Linked DNA regions of Homo sapiens: region 2 is linked to region 1. Evidence: promoter capture Hi-C in human tissues and cell types (Jung and others, 2019). All regions are on one chromosome and are shown on one strand. The core of a region is centred on a gene start or on the middle of the fragment in contact, and the rest is flanking DNA. Distances in the headings are between cores, read along the strand shown. Region 1 holds the start of GNG12 (G protein subunit gamma 12). Region 2 has its middle 11 kb from the start of GADD45A.

Region 1 (4,076 bases), core at 724-3,223:
CCCTGTTGGGGGTTCGATATCTAGTAAATTACATGAGTTAAATACAGCAAAAATAGGACTGCATTATTTATAAGGTCTAACGACGCAGTAGACTTTTCAGCATTTTTTGGACTTAAACCAGGGCTTTACGGCGCTGGTTAACTATTAGAGAAGGCAAAGGGACTGAACATTTTATCTGAAAGTCCTTTTATCACTTAAGACTCTGTAAAATTTTTGATTACTTTAAAAATTGTGTGTGTGAATAACGTTAGTTTACTAGAAAAGGGGCTTGCTAGTATATATAATTTGGTTAAAAAAACAAAAACAAAACAAAACAGCTCCTTACTTGAATGTGATTGTTTTGGCAATAGTAAAATTCAATCCCGTCGTTCTAGCGCTGCCTGCCTTCCTGGTTCTCCTAGGTGAGGGCCGCCATCCTGCGATAATTTACTTCGAGAGCTGCGAAGCGCTGGCAAGGGTGCAGTCTGGTGACTAGCACTTTTAAAAACAAAGCCAAACTCCGCTTTTAAAATAGAGAAGGCACAGACGCAGACCCTGCCTCTGACGACATCCAAAAGATTCATTATACACAGCCTATTCAGGCGAAGCTACAACCGCCCCAGGAAATATAAACTGTGTCGGCAAAGACAGCAGGGGGGAGAGGAAGTAACTGATGGGAAGGAAGCTAATCATGTGAAGTTTGTCCAACTCCACACGGTCTAATAAATTCCCGTTTGTTTCCGCTGGGAGCAGCCATTAAACGCGCCCTGACACGTGGGCGCAGGAACCTCCCTTCTACCTCTGGTGTTCAGAGATTTCCTTCTCGACCCACTTGTTTGTATACAACCACGCCCGGCAGGATGACCACCAGATGACCGGCCGCAGCAATGCCTCCACTCAGTCCCAGTTGGGCAAAGTTTCACTCCACTGCGGCGACGTGAACAAGAATCACGGCTTCCTTATCGTGAGTTATGAATGATTTAAGCCAAGTTTACAGGACACACAAAGCGAGGGACGAGTGAGTGACGGGAGGTGCTAAGTGACAGCGTTTTAAAGTTAGCTTTAATTGATATGCCCTAATTAAAATGAAAAACAGAATTCACCCTGCCCCACGGGATAACTGTCGGGGCAATAATTAAAAAAAAAAAAATCACCCAAGACTAAGCCTCAACCTCCCCCTTACCACTTGCAAATACAGTCTGCAGAAAAGCAGCCTCGGGTCCCCACTCGGGGGTCCCTCGCGGGGTGCGTCATATGGGCTCTCCCCTCTGCGACCCGCTATTTCCCTGCTAGACCCCCAGCGCCCAGCGGATTCCAAGGCTGCGCTCCCGCCGGCTGGTCCCGGGAGGTAGAAAGTAGGCAGAGGGGCGTGGCGTCCCTGTCGCCCCCACATGCCAGCCCTCCTCCAACGCCTGACACCACCACAAGCCACGGCTGGGAACACTGGGGGCCTCCCAACCCGGCGCGGGGCGCACGGCCGCAGGCTGGCGAGGAGGCAAGCGAGCTCAAGGGGAGACCTTTCCTTCCACCCCCAGCCCTAGCCCCAGCCACAGCCGTGGGGGCGGCTTCCCGCAACCTCGGGCGGCCGCCCGTCGAGGGCGCGCGCGCCGTTTCTGCCTCTGGGTCTCGGTGTCCCTTGGCCCCTTCCTCCCCCTCCCCCCGGTCTCCGGCGCCCAGCGCCCAGACCAGTCCCCGCCCTCCAGCAGGACACTCTTCCCTCCTTCCTTCCTTCCTCCGCTCCCTCCCTCCATCTCGCTTCCCAGCACCCGGGACTCGGAGGCGGCCCCCGAACTCGCTGGCCGACGCCCCGCGCCGCGCCCCGACCCCGCGGGGACCCGACTCACCACCCGCGCCCGCCGCTTGGTACTCACCCGCCTGCCGGTGCGCTGCCCCGCCGTCGCCGCCGGGACTCGGTCTCTAAGGGCTCCTGGAGACGGCTCCGACCTCTCCTCCTCCTCCTCCTCTTGCTCCTCCGGGCGCCGGCTCCGCCTCGCTGGGGTGGGCGGGGCGGCGGCGGCCCCGGGCTCCTTCCTCCGCGCCGGGCCCTGCCTCCCGCCCGGACGCCCTGGCTGTGCTGTCCCGGGCCGGGGAGCCCGCGTTGTGGCCCCGCAGGAGGAGGGGCGAGGCCTGGCCTGTGGAAGCTCGGTGGACGTCTGGTCGTCTTTGGCCATCCCCCTTCCTCTAATTCTCATGGAGGACCTGAAGTTCTAGGACTTGAGGGCCCCCACTCTACGACCCGCCCCCGCGCGGGGCCGCCCTGACTCCTCGCAAGTTTCCTTCGCGTGCGAACGCCTCGCTTGCCCCTGTGCCAGCGGTCCCCAGGGCTGTGAGGATGAGCGCTGCCAAACCCCTACACGAAAGTTTGGTTCTGTTCCAGAAACTATGGAGGAAAACACGCATAGTAACATTTAAAGGGCCCTGGGGCCACGGAGAGAAGTTTCCCAGAAAGTGGAGGTATAACTGCGGATTATAGAATTTGTAGTACATCCACCCACCATGAGCTTCCCGTCCATCTGCCCCGACCCCCTGAAATTTGTTTCCGAATGTCCAGTACCTGGCAGAGTTCTGCCTAATGAATTAATGGGATTTGGTTGGTCTTTTCTGGAAGGGTTCAAGGTCGGGTAAATGGAGGAGCCATTTCCGCTTCCACAGATTTTGTACTATTCCTTTGGCCATTCGACAGACATTACCAAGCACCCGCTGTGTACCAACTGCGATGCTAAAGGTGATGGGAGAGGTACAAAGATGAATCAGACAAGGGGCTTGCCTTCTTGGAGTCCAGAAAGAGTAAAGAAGCTGGATGTTCAGAAAACCACTCAGCGGACTTCTAGAGTATTCCTAGGTAGCCGCTTTCTTGTTTGACAGGGTGGAGAGAAAAGAGGTGAGGCCAAAGTAGGTCACTTAGAACCAGTGTGGGCAGAGTCCACACTTGAAATGGAGTCTGAAAGCATTGGTGAGGGATGTCTGTGTATTGAGTTTCACCAACTGAGGACAAGTGGGCCCTGGGGAATCTGGGAACTAGGGACTGCAGTCAGGGCATTATATTCCCTCTTGCTTTCCTTCTGACCCCTAAGCAAGTTTCAGGTTTAGTGAAATCATTTGCACATGTAGAAGAGGTGTCACAGGTAGAGTAGGTGTATGAATGCATGCCTTGCCCCAGGAGTGTGGTCTTAGCAAGCTGCGGATGGCGGTGGTTTGTGGGATGCAAGCCACAGACTGCCAGAGGGGTCTTTATTTCCTGTTCTGTTCAGCATTAGGAAATGCTTGACTGATTCACAAGTACTAACAGTTCAAATGATACACCTGAAACAGAACAGCTTGACACCACAGGGACTGAGAGGGTGGCATACTGGAGTTTGTATTTTTTGGCCACAGACCACAGAATAGACTCCTCTAAGCTATGCTACTAATTTTCCTTCCTGGGACACTTTATAGTTTAATAAGTGCTTTCATGTACTTACTCTTACTTTTCTCTCATTAGTCTCTTGAAAAAACCTGGAAGCTGGAACACCACATATTGCCACCAGTAACTTAAGCGGCTTGTCGAAGGTTTTTCTAGTTGAGTGCTGTTCAAAGTGTGGTTCATGGAATAGTGACAGTCTGCAAACCGTTACCCATCTACAAAGGGATGAGCATAGAAATTGAAGATGAGCATGTAGAAACTTACAGCAATTTGACAGAGTAATTTTATGTCTGTTAAATCGTTTAAAATGCAGCTTTGTATTTTATGTCTATTTCATTTTTCTTTTATGTGGAAAGGCATCAGCCTGCAACAGATTGAAAATAAAATATCACAGATAGTTTGAGAAGCACTGATCGAGATAGTATTAGGTTAGTACAGAAGTTATTACCGCAATTACTTTTGCATCAACCTAATAGCAAGGCAGGAATGATAAGAGCTAATACTTAACCAGCACTTTCTGCGTAGCAGATGTTGCTTTAAGTGCTTTACATATATTAAACCTTTTAATCCTCCTAACAACCTAAGGACGTAGTCACAGGAAGGTTAGGTCTTACAGAGCAAAACTGGCAGAGCCAGGATTCAAACCTTGGCTGGCTGACCCAATACTTTGTGCTTTTATCGATGCCCTTGATCC
Region 2 (4,154 bases), core at 48-2,547, 140 kb before region 1:
TTACTTATCCAATAAGTGGGGCAGAGCCTTGGGAAATCTAAAGGAGACAAAAAACACTCAAGGGAGAATTCTAAGAATTGTCTTCTTTCATCTTAGAACTGGGAAAGTTCTAAGCATCATTGAAAAGTTGATCTTTGTGTCCCTGCATGCTTTTATGCTAATATCTTTTCTAGAATTGTCTGAGAAAGAATTTATACAGAAAAGCAGCAAACTTTCTTAGTATCATCACTTAACACATGATTATATCACCATATTGTAATCATCTTACCATCATTGAAATAAGCACTCAGCAAGAAATGGGTCATCTGGAGGTCTTCTGATTTGATTTTGCTTCTTTATATAACTGTGAAGGACAGGGCTAGCAAAAGATAAGAACAAGAGTACAGCAGTTAAGACAGTGGCCGCCACTCCAGGCCATTGTCTTAATACCAGCCTGTAATACCAGCACTTTGGGAGGCCTAGCTGGGAGGCTTGTTTGAGGCTAGGAGTTTGAGATCAGCTTGGGCAACATAGCAAGACCCTATTTTTGTAAGAAAGAAAAGAATAACAAAAATGAAGAAAAAAGACATTGGGTTTTAGAGGCAGAAAGACTTGAGCTTGAATCCTGGATCCTAGCTGGAACTTGGGAAAGTTAGTGTAACTCTCGAAGCCTCAGTTATTTCTCCTGTAAAACTGGGGAAATAAACAAGGCTTATATCATCGGGTTATGGTGAAAAGGAAAGGAAACAATGCATAGAAAGAACCTAGCTCAGTTCCTAGAAGCAGTCAATATATGTAAGCTAATAATAATTGCATCTTCCATGAACTGGTGATTTTCTATGCCTGTTTATATTCCATTAATATTTAATTGTTCTGTTTGCAAATTAGTTATATAAGTAAAAAAAAAAAACCACCCAGTAAACTACATAGCCCAACATAACTGAATTCAGCAAGACACCATCCAATTAAATTATGTTAATTTTCACTAATCTAGTTTCCCCTCTCCATTTCCATTAACTTAATTTAGTTCTTTATCTGTCATTTAGGCTATCAGAACAGTTTCTGTTCAAAATCAAGGTTGTGAGAACATAAGTACCGTGTATCAAGTACTGTGCTAGAGCTTGCTCCATAAAGATGATTGTGACACAGTTGCTACATGCAGTTTGCTATAGGAACTATAGGAAGCTGACAGACACACATAATTTTCAAGCCAGAGTGGTGTCACGGCAAGCATGGGTATGCACAATGTGTGTGTGTGTGTCTGTGTGTGTGTGTGTGTGTGTGTGTGTGTGTGTGTGTGTAGGGGGTGGTCAGGAAACCTTCCAGGAGAAGGTGATGCTTGATGTGACTCTTGAAGAGCATTTAGGAGCTCATTGGGGTGAGGGGTGTGGCATGTGTGGGGCTCTGTGGTGTTTGTTAGGGGATTAAGTATTTAAGGAAGGGAGTGGAGAAAGGCAGGCTGAGGAGGTAGACAGAAACAGATCACAGAGGATGTAAATAGGGGGTGGGGTTGGAGGAGAGTGATAAGGGTTTGGAATGGAAAGGAGTTGAAGAACTAATAAAAGAATAGTGAATACCACCCTCCACTCCCTACTCCCCACAGAAATTAGAAACACGACCTCCAGTTTTTCTTCAGTAGTTTATTTTCCTTGTTCATTCTAATTATCTTCATGTCAAGACCATGCTTAAAAATCTCTTACCGGCTGGGCACGGTGGTTCATGCCTGTAATCCCAGCACTTTGGGAGGCCGAGGCGGGCGGATCACGAGGTCAGGAGATCGAGACCATCCCGGCTAACACGGTGAAACCCCGTCTCTACTAAAAATACAAAAAATTAGCCCGGTGTGGTGGCGGGCGCCTGTAGTCCCAGCTACTCGGGAGGCTGAGGCAGGAGAATGGCGTGAACCCGGGAGGCGGAGCTTGCAGTGAGCCGAGATCCCGCTACTGCACTCCAGCCTGGGCGACAGAGTGAGACTCCGTCTCAAAAAAAAAAAAAAAAAATCTCTGAACAACTACCCTTCCCCCCATATAATTCAGTACAAACTCTTGGCCTTTGATTATTTGACCCAACTTTCCTTCCCAGCCTTGTCCACATTCTCATTCCCATACTTCCGTTGCAAAGATCTCTGTTGCTCTAACACTCCAGGCTTCCTTAGATCTTGGGGCTTTTGCATACACTATTTTTCACTGCTGAGAATATCCTTTCCCTATTCTTTACCAACAAACTCCTACTTGTTCTTCAAAGTTCAACTAATATATTATCTCTTCTATGAAATCTTTTCTGACTCATTCAGACAGAACAATTTCTTATGATAGCATTTACCATATTGCATAGCAATTTATCTGTTTATTTCCTACTGCCCCTGCACCTGTTACTCCCACTCCCACTATCCTTGTGTTTTCTGGGTTTATCCTAGGACATACCTACCACAGTGCTAGTAGGAGCTCAACAAATAAATAAATTTCTCTTTGTTCTGTTTCTATAAACCAAACGCACTGTCATTCATATTTAATGTTTGAGTGGGCTATTTTTCTTTTTGTAGTTATGTTTTATGAACTCATAAGGTGCTACTGACACTTTAAGTTTGTTAAAGAACTTTGCTCCTTAATTCTATTAGTGGTAGGCTGTCAATATTCAAAATGCTTTTCTATAATTCATTTTTCCTTAAAATTCTTTATAGACCTGTTGATGAGCCAGTAGCTGAAGTATCAGGAGGTGATTCTTTAAATATCTTTTAAATACCTATAATTATACACAACAAACCCACGTGCCCTCCTCTGGCTCCATACGCTAGACTTTGGTTCTTCTCCTGATTTTCAATTCAAGGAGGAAAATGTACAATGACTTGGGGTGGAGATGGCAAGAGGGTTGATCTCCTCTCAGATTTACAGATTTATATACAATTTAAAGCTAGAGGAAATGTTAAAAATTACCTAGCCTAAATCTTTTTTTTAAAAGTGAATGGGGAAGTAGAATCAGAGATCATAAGTGTCCTAAGGTTGCACAGTAAATGAGTAGTAATCAGTCCAGAACATGCATTTCCTGATTCCAAGATACGTATTCTTTCTCTTACGTCACACTGGCTACCCTGAAAAATGGTTTTCTGAAAGCATATCCAATATACTTTTGGATCTCTCCAGGCTTCTATTTCCTCATATGTAAAGTAGGAATAATAGGAGTAGCTGTTTCCTGGATTTGTTGTGAGAATTAAATGAATTAACAGATGCAGGCCAGGTGCGGTGGCTCATGCCTGTAATCCCAGCACTTTGGGAGACCAAGGCGGGTGGATCACCTGAGGTCAGGAATTCGAGACCAGCCTGGCCAACATGGTGAAACCCTGTCTCTACAAAAAATACAAAAATTAGCTGGGCATGGTGGTGCATGCCTGTAATCCTAGCTACTTGGGGGGCTGAGGGAGAAGAATCTCTTGAACCTAGGATGCGGAGGTTGCAGTGAGCCCAGATCTTACCACTGCACTCCAGGCTGGGCAACAGAGCAAGACTCTGTCTCAAAACAAAAACAAAAACAAAAAACAACCACCACACCCCCACCAAAAAAAAAATAAACAGATGCAAAATGCTAAGAACAGTACCTAGTCATAGTAAATGCCTGAAATATAGCACTGTTTATTCTTAAGGCCCAGGGTATTACACTCATGATTAGTAAAGGACTTACTTGTTTACCTTACCTTTTACTTAATCTAACAATTACCAAAGTTACTGTTTGTTTGTTTTCCCTTATTCAAACCATACTACAAATATTAAGATAGTCCATGGGCTGTACAATCTGCCTGGGTGTATGTTCTTAGGACCCACCCTTTTATGTTGTTGGATCTAGCACAATTTTCTTAACTTCTCTGAGCCTCAGTTTCCTCATCTGTAAGATGGGGTTAAATCACATCTACTTTCCTTTAAAGAGTTGTTTTGAGGCTTCAATGGGAGAACACATGCACAATGCCCAGCCTAGTGTCTGGAGTTCAGTGTTCCTCATTGCCTTGCACAGATGTCTACAAATGTTGACAGATGTTGCATGGCCAGTGTTGAAACGTACATACCTCACCAAGGTCGGATCTAAAATGTTTATTTAGAACAAAGCACTTCTAGTGCATTGGCCATGGGAAAATTTTTCAAGGTTAAAAGTAGAAATGTGAACCTGTCTGCTTTACATGGGTGATT

Evidence for each region. Contacts are between HindIII fragments. The study calls those that stand out against the background at their distance.
Region 2: a contact is called between a fragment that was not itself captured here and the fragment with the promoter of GNG12 in region 1, in 1 of the 25 tissues and cell types used here (aorta).

What each region holds. Positions count from the first base shown.
Region 1 is chr1:67,831,494-67,835,569 of GRCh38, forward strand. GNG12 (G protein subunit gamma 12) reads right to left here and starts at 1,974. Exons shown (of 4, transcript NM_018841.6): 1 at 1,851-1,974. It overlaps GNG12-AS1 (GNG12, DIRAS3 and WLS antisense RNA 1), which reads left to right and starts at 795. Exons shown (of 10, transcript NR_040077.1): 1 at 795-943. The HindIII fragment of the contact is 19,373 bases long and covers 1-4,076 here.
Region 2 is chr1:67,693,882-67,698,035 of GRCh38, forward strand. No RefSeq gene overlaps it. Among named protein-coding and RNA genes, the nearest start is that of GADD45A, 11 kb to the left of the region's middle. The HindIII fragment of the contact is 9,732 bases long and covers 1-4,154 here.